Linked DNA regions of Homo sapiens: region 1 is linked to region 2. The links are contacts of gene promoters, found by promoter capture Hi-C in blood cells and fetal thymus (Javierre and others, 2016). All regions are on one chromosome and are shown on one strand. Each heading gives the region's core, a stretch centred on a gene start or on the middle of the fragment in contact. The rest is flanking DNA. Distances are from core to core; before and after follow the strand shown. Region 1 overlaps SH3TC2 (SH3 domain and tetratricopeptide repeats 2). Region 2 holds the start of ADRB2 (adrenoceptor beta 2).

Evidence for each region. Contacts are between HindIII fragments. The CHiCAGO score rates a contact against its expected background, and 5 or more counts as called.
Region 1: a contact is called between a fragment that was not itself captured here and the fragment with the promoter of ADRB2 in region 2, in 4 of 17 cell types (endothelial precursors, megakaryocytes, naive CD8 T cells and 1 more). The highest score is 7.7, in endothelial precursors.

Annotation. Positions count from the first base shown.
Region 1 is chr5:149,027,009-149,031,318 of GRCh38, reverse strand. SH3TC2 (SH3 domain and tetratricopeptide repeats 2) reads left to right here. Exons shown (of 17, transcript NM_024577.4): 10 at 2,601-2,642; 11 at 2,765-4,310. Among named protein-coding and RNA genes, the nearest start is that of MIR584, 33 kb to the left of the region's middle. RefSeq lists a cis regulatory region at 113 and an enhancer at 29-198. The HindIII fragment of the contact is 8,506 bases long and covers 1-4,310 here.
Region 2 is chr5:148,822,620-148,828,749 of GRCh38, reverse strand. ADRB2 (adrenoceptor beta 2) reads right to left here and starts at 2,139. Exons shown (of 1, transcript NM_000024.6): 1 at 127-2,139. The coding sequence starts at 1,918. The coding sequence ends at 677. RefSeq lists enhancers at 1,239-1,824, 2,681-2,840 and silencers at 1,871-2,010, 2,101-2,410. The HindIII fragment of the contact is 9,818 bases long and covers 1-6,130 here.

The DNA of each region.
Region 1 (4,310 bases), core at 1,413-3,912, 200 kb before region 2:
TACCGTGGGTGACTGGCTGTACTGGGTCTTCCCTCCTAATCTTGGGGGAGGAGAACTTCCTGAGTCCTGGCTGAGGTACCTTCTAGGACTGAAGTAAGCCCCCAGTGAGATGGGTGGGGCTGTAAATGTTACCGCTGTGAAAAGGCCTTAAGAGATGATTTCTTGTCTCACATTACAGATTGGGAAACAGGCCTAAACGAATTAGTGCCTGAGCTAGGATAAGAACTGCTAGTCAGAGCAATCCACTTTACCACACTGCCCCTGACACAAAATGACTTTGAGTTGTTGGGTGTGTTAGTCTTGGATGTTTTCTGTGTCATGGGATCAGATCTCAACAATTGTGAAAGATTCCTCTGACAAACTGACTGGTTTTGAGCAGTGTCTGAAGGACTGACTGACTGAATGAATGATACTCTTACTTTGAGAAAGGCCTACTGTTGTGTGTCAGGGAGTACATTTTCTCATTGATGGTGACTTGAGGAAGAATTTTTGTTTCTCCCATCTCTTCATTGATGGTGACATTGTGTCCGCTCTTGTGTAGCCAGATTAGATGATCCATATTTTATGGATACAGCTAGAGATTCTGCTGAAGGGGCCCTCAGGCCATCTCCCAGGAGTAGAGCAGGGAGTTGAGAGCTATGTCCGTGCATAAAGAGTGTTTGTGAAAGCACATGCCTCAGGCATAAGCACCCTGCCCTAGCAGAGCTTTCTTGCCACAAGCCACAAGCAGATCATATTGCCTTATGAGGTTGAGCAGGAAGCTAGAGTTGTAAACACTGCCCAGTAGGCGGGAGCCTGATGTCTGAAAATTGAGGTGTACTAGCAGTGTTCCTTGGGGAGAAGGCCTGGGCACAGACTTGGATCATGATTTCTGCCAGCTGTTGGTCCAGTGGTGGGGAGGATGTAAGAGGAGGCCCCAGACAGCACTTGACTCTCACTCAAAGATCAGGAGTGCAGCTCTGCGGCGTGCAGTCCGCACCTTATGGTTGTGCAGGCTGCCCCAGCACCAAGACAAGCAGCAGGAGAACATCTTGTTGGTAAATTGCAGCTTCCCCAAGGCGTATACCATAGGGAAGGATGGCCCTTTGTAATTCTTCCTCCTAGAGAGGGGACACCATTTTGTAACTTGCGCATCACTCATACTCTTGGCCAGAAGAGAAGAGGTGGCCCAAGAGGGGCGTGTACCCCTCCACATCAGAGAGGCCAGGGCATTTGAACAGCTCTCCTTAGCCAAGCTCTATAGCTCTTCATCTTTAGCTGCGGGGCTTTCTACCCTCTGGGGGTTACAGATCTGGAGGTTCTGCAATGACAATCTCTGGAGATGCCATCCTGGAGAACAGCAGGAAAAGGTTTGACTTGGTGAGGGGCTTGCTGGTCCTCAAAGTTCACTAGAGAACTCAGGGTGGTGGCACAGACAGTTGTTACTTCTCTGCTAAGAAGAGGTAGAATCTTCCCTCTAGCAGCTACCATCCTGTGGAGTGTGAAGCTAGCCTTCACCTCCACAGTTCCACTGTGGTTGCTTTAGCCAACAGTGGTCACTTCTTCACTGCCAAACCCAAGGTGTCTTCTTGGTTCTTACCTAGTCCGGTTGCACTTGGTGGCAATAGGTGGTTATGTTTTAAGTCACCTTGGCCTCTGTAACCCCCTTTTCTCTCTGACTGTGCCTTTTCAGTCTCCCTCACTGGCTACTGGCTGCCAGTGAGTTGCCCAGGCTTATTAACAAACTCCCCCTACTCCCTCACTCCCTCACTCCCCTGCTGCTTTTCTTTTCCCCCAGATGCCTCACCTGTGTGATTACATTTAGTCCTGGGACTCTGGCCAGCAATTTGTGACCTGCTTTGGGTCACAAACCTGTGTTTGCAAAGTCTCAGTTTTTCTCCTTGGCTCCAGACCTACATCATTATCTGCCTAGAGCTCCTGCAGCTACCTCAAACCCCAAAGGTCTAAAACTGCACTCCAGATTCTCCCATCCTCTACTTCAGTCTCAGATGCATCCTTGCTCCTTTTTATTCGCCCTTCACTTCTGGCCCCTCGCCCCTGCCACTTTTACAAACACAGTGTCCAGCCCAGTGGACACATGGAACCAATGTCTGCCAAGTGGATGAATCATGAATGAATGGAGGAGGCAAGAAGGAAGGATGTGATACATTTAGAAGTGGGAGGCAGCACCATGTGCTCCCACGTGTTCTGTGCTGGGAGTTGTGTCCTGGCTCCATCGTGAACTCGCTGAGAGATTTGGGAGCTGCATCTCTCTGATCTTCAGATTCTATCAGGACCCCCACTGTCCCCACCCCCCACCCCCCTACAGTACCCATACCTCTTGACATAGAGCCTGTGTTTCCAGGTTTTCTTCTCGGACTCTGAGTTTCACGTATACCTTGGTTCCCAACTGTAAAGTGCATGGGTTAAACAAGATGATTAGGCCCCTACAGCTCTTAAGATGATGGGTGAAAGGATAATTCTGCCCTGTTCCTTAATGATGACTGAAGGTCTTGAATGCCAAGGCTCCTAAGAGGCCACTGATCTGGGGTACACCTGGAGGCATGGGCATGGTGGCCCATCCTGACCTAACACCAGACCTGTTCTTCATCTCTACTTAGGTGGGTTTGAATCCATCCAGAATCCTCCAAATGATCTGAGTGGTGAGTAGCGATCATGCTGAACCTGACATTCATCCTTGAGGACAGCACTTCTGTCCTCTTGCCAAGAGCGGCCACCTTAGGTGCAGGTGCCCAAGGTTGCTCAACTTTGCCTGTCCTTACAGCATCCCAGCCTGAAGGTTTCAAGGAGGTCAGGCCTGGCAGAGCCTGGGAGGAGCATCAGGCCGTGGGGTCCAGACAGTCCAGCAGCTCTGAGGACTCCAGCCTGGAGGAGGAGCTCCTCTCGGCCACCTCAGACAGCTATCGCCTGCCGGAGCCTGATGACCTTGATGACCCGGAACTGCTCATGGACCTAAGCACTGGTCAGGAGGAGGAGGCTGAGAACTTCGCCCCCATATTGGCTTTTCTGGATCATGAGGGTTATGCTGACCACTTTAAGAGTCTCTATGACTTCTCCTTCTCTTTCCTCACTTCTTCCTTTTATAGCTTCTCTGAGGAGGATGAGTTTGTGGCCTACCTGGAGGCATCAAGAAAGTGGGCCAAGAAGAGCCACATGACCTGGGCCCATGCCCGTCTCTGCTTCCTCCTGGGCCGGCTGAGCATCAGGAAGGTCAAACTCTCTCAGGCCAGGGTGTACTTCGAGGAGGCCATCCACATTCTCAATGGAGCATTTGAGGACCTATCCTTGGTGGCCACTCTGTACATCAATTTGGCTGCCATCTACCTGAAACAGAGGCTGAGACATAAAGGCTCCGCCCTGTTGGAAAAGGCAGGTGCCCTGCTGGCCTGCCTGCCTGACCGTGAGTCTAGTGCCAAGCATGAACTCGACGTGGTGGCCTACGTGCTGCGCCAGGGGATTGTGGTGGGCAGCAGCCCGCTGGAGGCCAGGGCCTGCTTTCTGGCCATCCGCTTGCTCCTGAGCCTAGGCCGGCACGAGGAGGTCCTGCCCTTTGCCGAGCGCCTGCAGCTCCTCTCTGGACACCCTCCTGCCTCTGAGGCTGTGGCCAGTGTTTTGAGTTTTCTGTATGACAAGAAATATCTTCCACACCTTGCAGTGGCCTCTGTCCAGCAACATGGTATCCAGAGTGCCCAAGGGATGTCTCTTCCTATTTGGCAGGTCCACCTTGTCCTCCAGAACACAACCAAGCTCCTTGGCTTTCCTTCCCCAGGCTGGGGTGAAGTTTCTGCCTTGGCCTGCCCAATGCTCAGACAGGCCCTGGCTGCCTGTGAGGAACTAGCAGACCGGAGCACCCAGAGGGCCCTGTGTCTCATCCTTTCCAAAGTGTACCTCGAGCACAGGTCTCCTGACGGTGCCATCCACTACCTGAGCCAGGCCTTGGTGCTAGGGCAGCTGCTGGGTGAGCAGGAATCCTTTGAGTCTTCTCTCTGCCTGGCATGGGCCTATCTCTTAGCCAGCCAGGCCAAGAAGGCTTTGGATGTGCTTGAGCCACTGCTATGCTCCCTGAAGGAGACAGAGAGTCTCACTCAAAGGGGAGTCATCTATAACCTCCTGGGACTTGCACTCCAAGGTGAAGGCCGGGTGAACAGGGCAGCCAAGAGCTATCTTCGGGCCTTGAACAGAGCCCAGGAGGTGGGAGATGTGCATAACCAGGCAGTGGCTATGGCCAATCTTGGCCACCTGAGCCTTAAGTCCTGGGCTCAGCATCCAGCCAGAAACTATCTCCTGCAGGCTGTACGACTCTATTGTGA
Region 2 (6,130 bases), core at 890-3,389:
ATGTCATTCTTGTATCATTCTACATTAAGTCATGGGCAGTAATTACAAGTAGTTACCTGCGGTTTCCAGTGGGGGAGGCAACAGCACTCCAGTCAAGGGGTTTTGGAGAAACAGGTGCAATGAAGGCATGGTCAAACAATTTATTTACTGTAAACTTTAGACTTTGCTCGGGAAAACAACTGAAGCTGCTCCTCAAATCCCTGCCTAAAATACCCCGTGTGAGCAAATAAGAGGAGTGGGGGAAGAGTCCATGTTCACAGCTGAAAGGTCCGAGATACTCAAAATCCTCAAGTCCAAGGGTGTAGGAAGGAAAATCTCCTTCAGATACAAATTACCAGCAGCAATATATTACCCCTAATACTTGAATAGTGAGGTAGATACATGGAAAAGTCATGAAAATATAGCAGACTCAGGTCCTCTAGGACTAAAGCTCTTTAGACATAAACTTACAAATTCCATGCAAAGAGGAACTGAACTGTACAAATAACAAATAATCACTCAAATAAGTTTTCTCTCTTTTTACAGCTTAAAAAAATAAAAAAGGCAGAAGGATGCCCTTCCTTCTGCATATCTCTATACAATTTTACAATTTTATTCTAAGTTTATTACCCTCAAGTTAAATAGTCTGTTTAGTGTTCTGTTGGGGGGGGGGGTCTTTAAAAGTAGAAAAACTGCTTTACAGCAGTGAGTCATTTGTACTACAATTCCTCCCTTGTGAATCAATGTTATCGCTAGGCACAGTACCTTGATGGCCCACAAAGTCTTCCGTGCCTGGGAGGTCTTCACACAGCAGTTTATTTTCTTTCTCCTGTTCCACGTGATATCCACTCTGCTCCCCTGTGTTGCCGTTGCTGGAGTAGCCATTCCCATAGGCCTTCAAAGAAGACCTGCGCAGGCACAGAAGCTCCTGGAAGGCAATCCTGAAATCTGGGCTCCGGCAGTAGATAAGGGGATTGAAACCAGAATTGACATAGCCTATCCAATTTAGGAGGATGTAAACTTCCTTACGGATGAGGTTATCCTGGATCACATGCACAATGTTAACGATGAAGAAGGGCAGCCAGCAGAGGGTGAAAGTGCCCATGATGATGCCTAACGTCTTGAGGGCTTTGTGCTCCTTCAAGCAGAACTTGGAAGATCTGCGGAGTCCATGCCCCGTCCGCCCATCCTGCTCCACCTGGCTAAGGTTCTGGACATGGAAGCGGCCCTCAGATTTGTCAATCTTCTGGAGCTGCCTTTTGGCCTCCTGAAAGACCCTGGAGTAGACGAAGACCATGATCACCAGGGGAACGTAGAAGGACACGATGGAAGAGGCAATGGCATAGGCTTGGTTCGTGAAGAAGTCACAGCAGGTCTCATTGGCATAGCAGTTGATGGCTTCCTGGTGGGTGGCCCGGTACCAGTGCATCTGAATGGGCAAGAAGGAGGTAAGGCCTGACACAATCCACACCATCAGAATGATCACCCGGGCCTTATTCTTGGTCAGCAGGCTCTGGTACTTGAAAGGTGAAGTAATGGCAAAGTAGCGATCCACTGCGATCACGCACAGGGTCTCAATGCTGGCCGTGACGCACAGCACATCAATGGAAGTCCAAAACTCGCACCAGAAGTTGCCAAAAGTCCACATTTTCATAAGAATATGGGCGGCCCCAAAGGGCACCACTGCCAGGCCCATGACCAGATCAGCACAGGCCAGTGAAGTGATGAAGTAGTTGGTGACCGTCTGCAGACGCTCGAACTTGGCAATGGCTGTGATGACCAGCACATTGCCAAACACGATGGCCAGGACGATGAGAGACATGACGATGCCCATGCCCACCACCCACACCTCGTCCCTTTCCTGCGTGACGTCGTGGTCCGGCGCATGGCTTCCATTGGGTGCCAGCAAGAAGGCGCTGCCGTTCCCGGGTTGCCCCATGGCGCGCAGTCTGGCAGGTGAGCGCACTGGCTGGGGGCGCCTCAGCGGGCGGACCCACGGCGGGGCTCTGCGGGCCGCGAGCGGACGCCTGGAAGCCTCATTCAGCGGCTGTGGTGTGGGTGTGGTGGGGACTCGTCCTGCACACTCAGCTTGTCGGGTGCTAGGGGCTCGCGGTGCCTGCCAGTTCCAGCCCGTGCTCTGAAGAAGCCGCTTCGCAGTGCGTTCTGCCCGTTATGTGCACAGGACTTTAGGGGAACTGCCCTCGCCGTGACGTACGGGAACTTTCGGCCAATGGCACGCCGGCAGCCGCGAAGGGGCGAGGCACTCCTCCCCTTTCCCTCCCCTCCCCTCGCCCTCCTTCTCCTGGGGCTGGCCCGGGCGGGGCCCAACTGCTCCCTGGAGGGCGGGCCACCACTGCTTCCCGGCTACCCTGGCTGGCCCCAGAGGGCTAAAGCTGGAGGTGGTGTCCTTACCAGCCAACCCGGGAGCTTTTGGCTCTTCTGTGGCCGCTACCTGCCTGCCCTGGGCGCCTGCGCGGCTTGAGGTCTCAAGGCAGAGGGCAGCACACCGGCACTGCCCCACATTCGGAAGGAAACGAGAGTGCCCACCGAGGCACGCACATACAGGCACAAATACACCCTGGCAGACATGCTCAGACTTATACCGAACCACAGCCATAGACACTGAGACACACCCTCCCAGCTCACCGACATGCACACTCGCGCGCGCTCTCACACAGAAGCCATCCGGCACAAAGTCACCCCTGTCCAACACAGAAACGCGGCCAGAAACAAACACAGAAGCACCCAGAAGCACAAAGACATGGTGACACACACAGAAAGTAAACACACGCTGGCTTGGAGGCATCCAGAGCGACACAGACACGGATGTCTCCATCTGGGTACTCCGAACTTGCCTCACCCGAGCACTGATAATGCTCCCCTCCCAACATACACCCGGTAACCCAGTGTATTCCCTTTCAAACATTTGGCAAGAGCACAGGAGGTGACTTCAACAGCTGCTGATTTCCTCAGCACACTCGCTGTCAAGTACTTTAGGTGCCCTCCTTAGGAATTTGCAGGCATGAAGACAGTTTTACCCTTTGGATTTTATCTGGAGCGGGGGTATGCAAGTATGTATTTTGGGACAGAGAGAGAAAGTTGTGTGCTTTTGTTTTAATTTTTTTGTTGTTTTGTTTTTAACTCTTGAGAGTGTGGCATCACTCACTCATTATCTGTTGAACTGGAGATGCAATGAGAATTCAAACAATTTCTTCAGTAAACCCAATGAAACTAAAAAAAATCCTTTCATCTGCTGGATAGTTTGTTAATCTTTCGGGTTGTGCCATGTGAAATTGCCACCATCTGGCGTCTGTGACTTACCAAAATGGCAAATTCATATGGTTCAGAGTATTAAGAATGTCTTAACATTAAGAACATTTTGAAGCTATAGAAAGCAAAAGATCCTGGCCAATATGGTGTAACTCTTGTCTCTACTAAAAATACAAAAATTAGCCAGGTGTGGTGGCACGTACCTGTAGTCCCAGCTACTCGGGAGGCTGAGACAGGAGAATCTCTTGAACCCGGGAGGTGAAGGTTGCAGTGAGCCGAGATCACGTCACTGCGCTCCAGCCTGGGTGACAGAACAAGACTCCATCTCAAAACAAAACAAAACAAAAAACACAAGATAATTCTCCCTTAAGAAAAAGAAAAAAGTAAGACCAAATCTCAAAAGTAAGATCTTTGTTCATGAAATACTATCCTTTCCATCTGGCATGTGACTTTACTGCTAAAGTGAAATTAATTTTCAGGGTTTGATTTCCCATGTATTAGTGGTGTCTTTGAAAAACTGAAAGTATTTCATGAAGTGTAACTAAACGTACTTTGTAGATTACATAATAACATAACAATGGTTAACATTTATGGACCATTCTGCTATTTGCTTTTCATGCATTATTCTATTTAATCCTTCCCACAGTCCCATGGGGGTGGGGACTATTTTTAGCTTAATTCACAAATGAGGTTCAAAGAGGAAAATGGCTTGCCCAGGGGCAATGGCTGGGCAGTGCCAGAATCTGGATTTGACCCAGGTCTGCCTGAGTCCAAGACCCATCTTTTAATCTTTTCAATGTATTGCATAATTACATGCAGACAGGAGTGATGGATAGGGAGGAAGGGCTACAACTGGAACTGGAATACCCAGGTTCCAGATTCACCAAACTTGGAGCTTTCTAGTTCATTTTTTTTTTTTTTAAGAGAAATCACGAAGTACCTGATTTCCATTGTCTCTAAAGGGGCATAAAGTCACTTCCATTGGGGTAAGCAAGAATTGAATGATATAGTAAGAAATATGAAAATGCTTTTGCTCATATAAGTGTCACACAAGTGTAGTTTGTAAGCGAAGTTTACATAAATTACTTAGTGGTTTAGAATATGTTGTTAGTCTTCTCTACTAGAACAATAAAATACTTTAGGGCAAAAGTAAGTTGGGTGTTTACTCTGGAAGCAAAGCTCAGAAACAGAATTTAACCTACATATCCCCTTTAACATCCTTCATAGCAGAAACTGACTTTTTGCAAGACAGATGCCTTAGAAAACAAGTATTTCCCATAAAATCCACAAATATGAATTAAAGATCTATTATATTCACATAGTTTTCAAAATACACTCACCTCATATTTGTGTTTTCCAAAATTGGCTGTGGCATGATGCATTTTAGGAAGAGGCAGTATTTATTATGCAACAACGTTTCTTTAAATATGCATCTACTCAAATTGTGGAACTAAACCATTTAAAACCTCCTTCCTGTTTGTGAAGCTATGGCATAAATAAGCATATTGTTTAACCTTCCTATAATAAGAAAAGAACAAAGAAAACCCCTTTAAGACAAATATTAACTGATCATGTATTTAGATATACACGTAAGTCACTTAAAAGTTTAACTGAATATTTTGGGAAACTCCTTTTTTAAAACCCACAAATACTAAATCAAGAAGGACTGGCTAGCCATATGCAGAAAACTGAAACTGGACCCCTTCCTTACACCTTATACAAGAATTAACTCAAGATGAATTAAAGACTTAAACGTAAGACCTAAAACCATAAAAACCCTAGAAGAAAATCTAGGCAATAACATCCAGGACATAGGCATGGGCAAAGACTTCATGACTAAAACATCAAAAGCAATGGCAACAAAAGCCAAAATTGACAAATGGGATCTAATTAAACTAAAGAGTTTCTGCACAGCAAAATAAACTATCATCAGGGTGAACAGGCAACCTACAGAAAGGGGGAAAAATTTTGCAATCTATCCATCTGACAAAGGGCTAATATCCAGAATCTACAAAGAACTTAAACAAATTTACAAGAAAAAACAAACAGCCCCATGAAAAAGTGGGCAAAGGATATGAACAGACACTTCTCAAAAGAAGACATTAATGCAGCCAACAAACATATGAAGAAAAGATCATCAGCACTGGTTATTAGTGAAATGCAAATCAAAACCACAATGAAATACCATCTCACACCAGATACAATGGCGATCATTAACACATCAGGAAACAGACCGGGCGCAGTGGCTCATGCCTGTAATCCTAGCACTTTGGGAGGCTGAGGTGGGTGGATCACCTGAGGTCAGGACTTCGAGAGCAGCCTGACCAACATGGTGAAACTTCGTCTCTAATAAAAATACAAAAATTAGCCAGAAGTTGTGGCATGCCTGTAGTCTGACCTACTCTGGGGGCTGAAACAGGAGAATCGCTTGAACCTGGGAGGTGGAGGTTGCAGTGAGCCGAGATTGTGCCACTGCACTCCATCCGGGGTGACACAGTGAGACTCCGTCTCAAAAAAAAAACAGGAAGTCAGGAAACAACAGATGCTGGAAAGGATGTGGAGAAATAGGAACACTTTTACACTGTTGGTAGGAATGTAAATTAGTTCAAACATTGTGGAAGACAGTGTGGCAATCCCTCAAGGATCTAGAACAAGAAATACCATTTGACCCAGCAATCCCATTACCTGGTATATACCCTAAGGATTATAAATCATTCTACTATAAAGACACATGGACATGTATGTTTATTGCAGCACTGTTCACAATAGCAAAGACTTGGAACCAACCCAAATGCCCATCAAGAATAGACTTGATAAAGAAAATGTGGCACATATACACCATGGAATACTGTGCAGCCATAAAAAAGGATGACTTCATGTC